Linked DNA regions of Homo sapiens: region 2 is linked to region 1. The links are contacts of gene promoters, found by promoter capture Hi-C in blood cells and fetal thymus (Javierre and others, 2016). All regions are on one chromosome and are shown on one strand. The core of a region is centred on a gene start or on the middle of the fragment in contact, and the rest is flanking DNA. Distances in the headings are between cores, read along the strand shown.

The links. Contacts are between HindIII fragments. The CHiCAGO score rates a contact against its expected background, and 5 or more counts as called.
Region 2: a contact is called between a fragment that was not itself captured here and the fragment with the promoter of VNN1 in region 1, in 1 of 17 cell types (neutrophils). The highest score is 6.9, in neutrophils.

The regions. Positions count from the first base shown.
Region 1 is chr6:132,712,451-132,715,656 of GRCh38, reverse strand. VNN1 (vanin 1) reads left to right here and starts at 1,602. Exons shown (of 7, transcript NM_004666.3): 1 at 1,602-1,831. The coding sequence starts at 1,622. The HindIII fragment of the contact is 10,237 bases long and covers 1-3,206 here.
Region 2 is chr6:132,784,858-132,788,063 of GRCh38, reverse strand. It overlaps SLC18B1 (solute carrier family 18 member B1), which reads left to right. Exons shown (of 14, transcript NM_052831.3): 5 at 483-630. Among named protein-coding and RNA genes, the nearest start is that of SLC18B1, 12 kb to the left of the region's middle. The HindIII fragment of the contact is 3,512 bases long and covers 1-3,206 here.

The DNA of each region.
Region 1 (3,206 bases), core at 353-2,852:
ATGGTTCCTAATGCTTTATTGGATAGAATACAACAAAAGCGATGAGGTGTTGCTTCCCCAATTACATTACGAAGCATCCGTGGCTTCCATCTCCAGTGGGTTCACTTGCTGTCTGGCTCTAAGGGAATCCAGATACCATAATGCGGGCTGCCCTATGGTGAGGTTTGCATCACTAGGAACTCATGTCTCTGGGCAACAACCAATGAGGTCTTGATCCCTGCCGTCAGCCACATGAGGGAGCTTGGAGCTCGGAAGTGAATCCTCCTGGAGTCAAGCCTTGATATAGCTAGCCCTGGCAGCTGCTTGACTGCAGCCTTGTGAAAGAGACCTTGGGCCAGAGGCACCAGCTAAACTGCCCCTGGATTCCTGACCCAGAGAAAGTGGGAGATGATGTATTTTTGCTTTTTGAAGCTGCTGAATTTGGGGATAATTTGTTATATAGCAATAGAAAATGAGTAACTCTTTTGTATTCCTCTTTGTCCTGGCTTCCCCATTTTGAGGAAAATAAAGTAAATCAAAGTGTAGAGCTGAAATATTCACATGAAAATAATAATAAAGTTTTAAAATTATTTGAATGTCTTGTGTTGACATTCCAAAATATATGAATTCCAAAAATTTATATGTTGAAGTCCTAACTGTCAGTATCTTAGAATGTAACTTTTTTGGAAAAGGGGTCATTTCAGATCTAATTAGTTAAGATGAAGTTATACTGGAGTACAGTGGGCACTAAATCGAATTGGTCCTATGATTGAGTCTCAGTCTTTCAGTGAGCCTGTACCCCTGGGTTTATGACCTTCAGTTGGCTTTTTTCTTCTGCCCTTATTTGGCATAAAAACAAAGCAGGTGGATCACCTGAGGTCAGCAATTTGAGACCAGCCTGCCCAACACGGCGAAACCCTATCTCTACTAAAAATACAAAAAATTAGCCTGGCGTGGTGGCGGGCGCCTGTAATCCCAGCTACTTGGGAGGCTGAGGCAGGAGAATCACATGAACCCGAGAGGCGGAGGTTGCAGTGAGCCGAGATTTCGCCACTGCACTCTAGCCTGGGTGACAAGAGTGAAACTCCATCTCAAACAACAACAACAATAAACAAACAACAACGATGACAAAAAAAGCTAGAGCTGGGATTTTCCCTTTCCCTGTGTTAAAGATTAGAGTGGTGTCCTCACAAAAAGGGAAAACTTGGATACAGGCACACACATGGGGAGAATAGCATATGAAGAGACACAGGGAGAAGGCAGCCATCTATGGGTCAAGGAGAGAGGCCTGGAACACATCTTTCCTTCACCGCCCTCAGGAGGAACCAACTCTGCTGACACCTTCATCTGGGACTCCCACCCTCCAGAACTGCAAAGCAATAAATTTTTTATTTTTTACACCACCCAGTTTATTGTATTTTGTTAGGCAGCCCTAGCGAACTAATGTACATAGAGTTCTTGAGTTAATCTTCACAAATTACTGCAATAAGGTAGGGTCTTTTGTTATGTAACAATGCTATGAAATCATAGCGTTTTCTTAATTAACTTCCGTAGTTTAAGGTACTAAGTTCTGGACACCACGTGTCTTCTTTCTATAAATACCAGGACATGCTCTGTTTTTCAGCACTCATTGGACTTCAGCATGACTACTCAGTTGCCAGCTTACGTGGCAATTTTGCTTTTCTATGTCTCAAGAGCCAGCTGCCAGGACACTTTCACTGCAGCTGTTTATGAGCATGCAGCGATATTGCCCAATGCCACCCTAACACCAGTGTCTCGTGAGGAGGCTTTGGCATTAATGAATCGGAATCTGGACATTTTGGAAGGAGCGATCACATCAGCAGCAGATCAGGTACCATCTCTACCATCTCTCCAGTGTACTGGATTCTATGAGAAAGGAGGGGGTCCTAGGAGACAGGGCCACTGTCAGGGTCAGTTACACTTTTAGATGATATATGTATCAGAGTAGCCAAGAACCTTTATTTTACAGTTAGAATTCTACTTTCCTCTCAAAATTAGAGCAAGGACTTCCCTAAAAGTAAGAACAAAGTTAAGAAAAGAACAATTTGCTCATTATCAAGAAGCAGCAGACCTTTGAGGAACTGGCCATAAATTCAACATCTTTGTTCCCCTTTTCTGGTACAGATGGAGGATGGAGGATAAATGGGTCAGGGACTAGGTGCTATTTTCAGAGTATTAGTGGCCTTCATGTACTCATGTGCTATTAAGGCTTTGCAGGTTTTCGAATAAATTTATAATCTGAAAACAAATTTAAGTTTTCAATTCCTTGCCAGCATGCATTATATACTTCACACTTCATTCTAATTACAAGATAAAAGTATATGTAATGCATTGTGAGTCCTTAAGTTTAGTGAAGGTTTCAGTTTGAAGTTAATCATACAGTATAAATTGTGGTTTACACAAATATTATTTTAAAAGCTATTGATCGATTAGGTGTAGACCAGGAATACATGAAGTGTGATAAAAGTCATGGATAAATGTGTATTACATATATCTATAAATATATATTCTTTTGTGTTGTTGAGTTAAGGTCTCACTCTGTCACCCAGGATGGAGTATAGTGGTGTGATCACGTCTCACTGCAGCCTTGACTTCCCGGGCTCAGGTGATTCTCCCACTACAGTCTCCAGAGTAGCTGGGACCACAGATGCATGCCACCGTGCCCAGCTAAGTTTTGTATTTTTTGTAGAGATGGGATTTTGCCATGTTGCCCACGCTGTACTTGAACTCCTGACCTCAGGTGATCCACCTGCCTTGGGCTCCCAAAGTGCTGGGATTACAGGCATGAGCTACCGTGACTGCCCTATATTCTTATATATACTAATATTTAAAAGGTTATCAGGAGTTCTGATGTTCTTTTTCATCCTTAGTCCAACTATTTCCTTGAAGGTCACAGAGCTTTTTAAGGTGACTCTCTAATTGGAAGGTGCCCAGGTTAGCTCAGGCAGTACTTGTAGGCATGGGACAGTTCAAGTAACCAGTTTGTGGCTCCTCTTTTTCTGAGAAGCAGGAATCATGTTTGCAGGGGAAAGCTAGGGCAGAGGAGGAAATAAACAGAATATTTAAGTTATTAATCAGTCTTGACACAGGCACAGTCATCAGCGAAAGTTCAAGGAGAGGCTTGGTTCCAGGATAAGCTAGGTTTATAGTTAACGACTGCCATAGGAAACAACAATGGCAGGATTAGAAAATTAAAATGCTTGACT
Region 2 (3,206 bases), core at 294-2,793, 72 kb before region 1:
TCAGCCTCCCGAGTAGCTGGAACTACAGGTGGCCACCACCACACCTGGCTAATTTTTTGTATTTTTAGTAGAGACGGGGTTTCACCGTGTTGGCCAGGATGGTCTCGATCTCCTGACTTCGTGATTTGCCTGCCTCAGCCTCCCAAAGTGCTGGGATTACAGGCGTGAGCCACTGCGCCCAGCTGATTCTACATATTCCAAAAAAGTTTATTTAGTGCTATTATCTGGGGGACCAGTTATATCAGCAGAAAAGGGCGACTAAGCTGTCATTATGACTCAAATGGTTACCAAAAAAAGAAAAAGGGTAATTTCCTCCTCCTGAAAAGACAACAAAGCAACTCTTTTAAAAAAATCATATTCTAAAGCGGTTTATTCTAAAAACCATGAGTGAGGTACTATTCTTTTTAGTGAGTACAGTTAAAAAGGAAAAAAAAAAAAAGAAAACCAGCTTGGCATTTCAGAATTGTCTTATTCCTTTTTAGTGTATTGGACCGAGTTCCAGATGGGCCAGTATTTATTGCTATGTGTTTTCTAGTGAGAGTAATGGATGCAGTTAGCTTTGCTGCAGCAATGACTGCATCTTCTTCTATCCTGGCAAAGGCTTTTCCAAATAACGTGGCTACGGTATTGGTATGTATTTTAGAAGTATTTCCCACTTTCCTTTGAGTGTAGGCCAAAATATTTGCCCTTCCAAGTTAAAGCTGGGGTCCATTCTTCTATACTTGCATTTCTCTACTCTCTGTATTATTGTTGCCTTTCACCCCGAGTTTGACTAGCAGCAAGCCTGTCAATAAATGTAACATTGGTTTCACTTAGGTGCTCTTCCTGGTTTTAGAATTCCCTGAATGGGCAGTTTGACAGGTAAATGTGGTCCAAATCAGTCGTTCTTTTTACCACTTAAAAAAAAAATTTTCCTTTGTAGTTTTTTTGCTGTCTCCCCGTAGCCTAGATTGTGGCTGAGCTGCCTGAAGCATTCCTCTGCTTTAGAAAAGAGTTATCCCTAGTGGCAAAATAATCAATTCATACTAAAGGCCTTCTTCCACTTTCCCCAGATTTATGCACGGGATCTTAGAAATCATCTCAAAGTCCTTAAGTGTTTCTGTGCTGTCTGTCTGAGGAGTGCTTTTGCATTTTGACATAAAAATCCAGATCCTGGTGGCATGATATTGACATGCGTTTTTGTGTACTGCCTAGATGCGTATAGACCTGGTATTAGTGACATATCAGATTCTCATCCCATCTCTAGGCAGCTGCCTCTCTGATCCCCAAGAAGGCTTTCCCCTCGTAGCTCTCTCTCTCTCTCTGGGCCCACGCACTTCATATCATAGTCGGTATGGCGCCCTTATAGCATGTAATTGTTCTCTTAGACTTCAGAGTCTAATCAGCTTAGTACCGAGGACTCCCTCATTTACTCATGTAACAATGTAGTTTGAAAATTTTTACCATCAGATAAACCCTTTGTGGTGTAAATAGTCCTTCCCCCCAACCTTTTTTTTTTTTTTTTTTTTGGAGTGGGGGATGGAGTCTCGCTCCGTAGCCCAGGCTGGAGTGCAGTGGAGCGATCTCGGCTCACTGCAAGCTCCGCCTCCCGGGTTCACGCTATTCTCTTGCCTCAGCCTCCCGAGTAGCTGGGACTACAGGCGCCCGCCACCACACCCGGCTACATTTTTTTTTGTATTTTTAGTAGAGACGGGGTTTCGCCATGTTAGCCAGGATGGTCTCGATCTCCTGACCTCGTGATCCACCTGCCTCAGCCTCCCAAAGTGCTAGGATTACAGGCGTGAGCCACCGTGCCCGGCACGTTCTTCCCACTTTTTATTAAGCATTTATGTATATAGCTGGATAGGTTTATGGTAGGTTCTATTGCCATTTGGCCGGCATACCATTTACATTTCCAGAAAATTTATTTCTCAGAAAGGGCTCAGAAGAACACCCGTCTGTTGATATGCTCATTAAGATAAGGGTTTATGGTTAAGCAAGTTTGGAGAGGGCTGTCTGCTGTCCTCTAACTTAGAGATGCCCAGTTCACATTAATGTCTTTAGACCTTGAAAATCCTGGAGTAGGGATACTTTATTAAATGTTCCACAACTCACTTTAACTATGGAACCATTTTTTTTCTTTCTTTTCTTTTTTCTTTTTTTCTTTCTTTTTTTTTTTTTTTTTTTGTAGAGACAGGGTCTTGCTGAGTTGCCCAGGCTGGTCTTGAACACCTGGCCTCAAGCAATCCTCCCACTTTGGCCTTCCAAGGTGGCTGGGATTACAAATGTGAGCCACCACACCTGGCTGTAACTATTTTTTCAAACAAGACTTGTTGATCTCTTAAAGAGCTGGTATTCTGTGGAACACTCTGGAAAGTGCCACTTAATAAATTCCTATGATAATGGTAACAATCCATTGGATTTTCTGATCAGCAAGAGACACCAATGTTGCTGTACCAAGTTTCTGTATAAAATTGCAGCCAACAGCTAACACACTAATGTGATAATTGATCTGGATGGCTTATTGTGATTAAAGAATTTCAATGTTCTTTATGAAGTTTTGAAAGTTATTAATGGTATATTTTTGTGTACTCTATAAGGTCTAAGGATATAAGGCTGCAAGCCACAGATCTCTGTTTAAGGTCCCTAAAAACTAGATTGATTTAAAATGTTGCAATATCTATAGTGGTAAACCCTTTTTTTCCATAGCATTGTTTTGTTTAACTTTAAACAGAATAATTTTATATGGTACAAAATTCAAAAGTTACAGAAGGGAACATAGAATATAGTAAATATATTCTACATATAACAGTTGCTCAGCCTTTGTATACACATCAGTTGTGCAGGTGCCCAGCCCTCCATCCCCTTAGGGGAAGGCAACAGATATTGCAGGTTTCTTGCAGAGAAATTCCACATATATATATGTACACACTGACACACACACACACACACACACACACACACACTGAGAGAGAGAGAGAGCACGAGAACAAGAGAGCATGATTTCCCTCCCCCTTTTTTCTTTTCCTTTTTTTTTTTTTTAACTGGACAGGACTATTGCAGTATCCCTCTTTTTTCTTTACACAAATGGTAGCAATACCATATGTACCATTCAGCACCTCACTGGTTACACCAACAATGAAATCATCTTGGAGATCTTCCTGTACCTACATATAAGGAGCTTTCTTACTCTTTACTGTTCTTACTGTCTGTATAGTATTTCACTG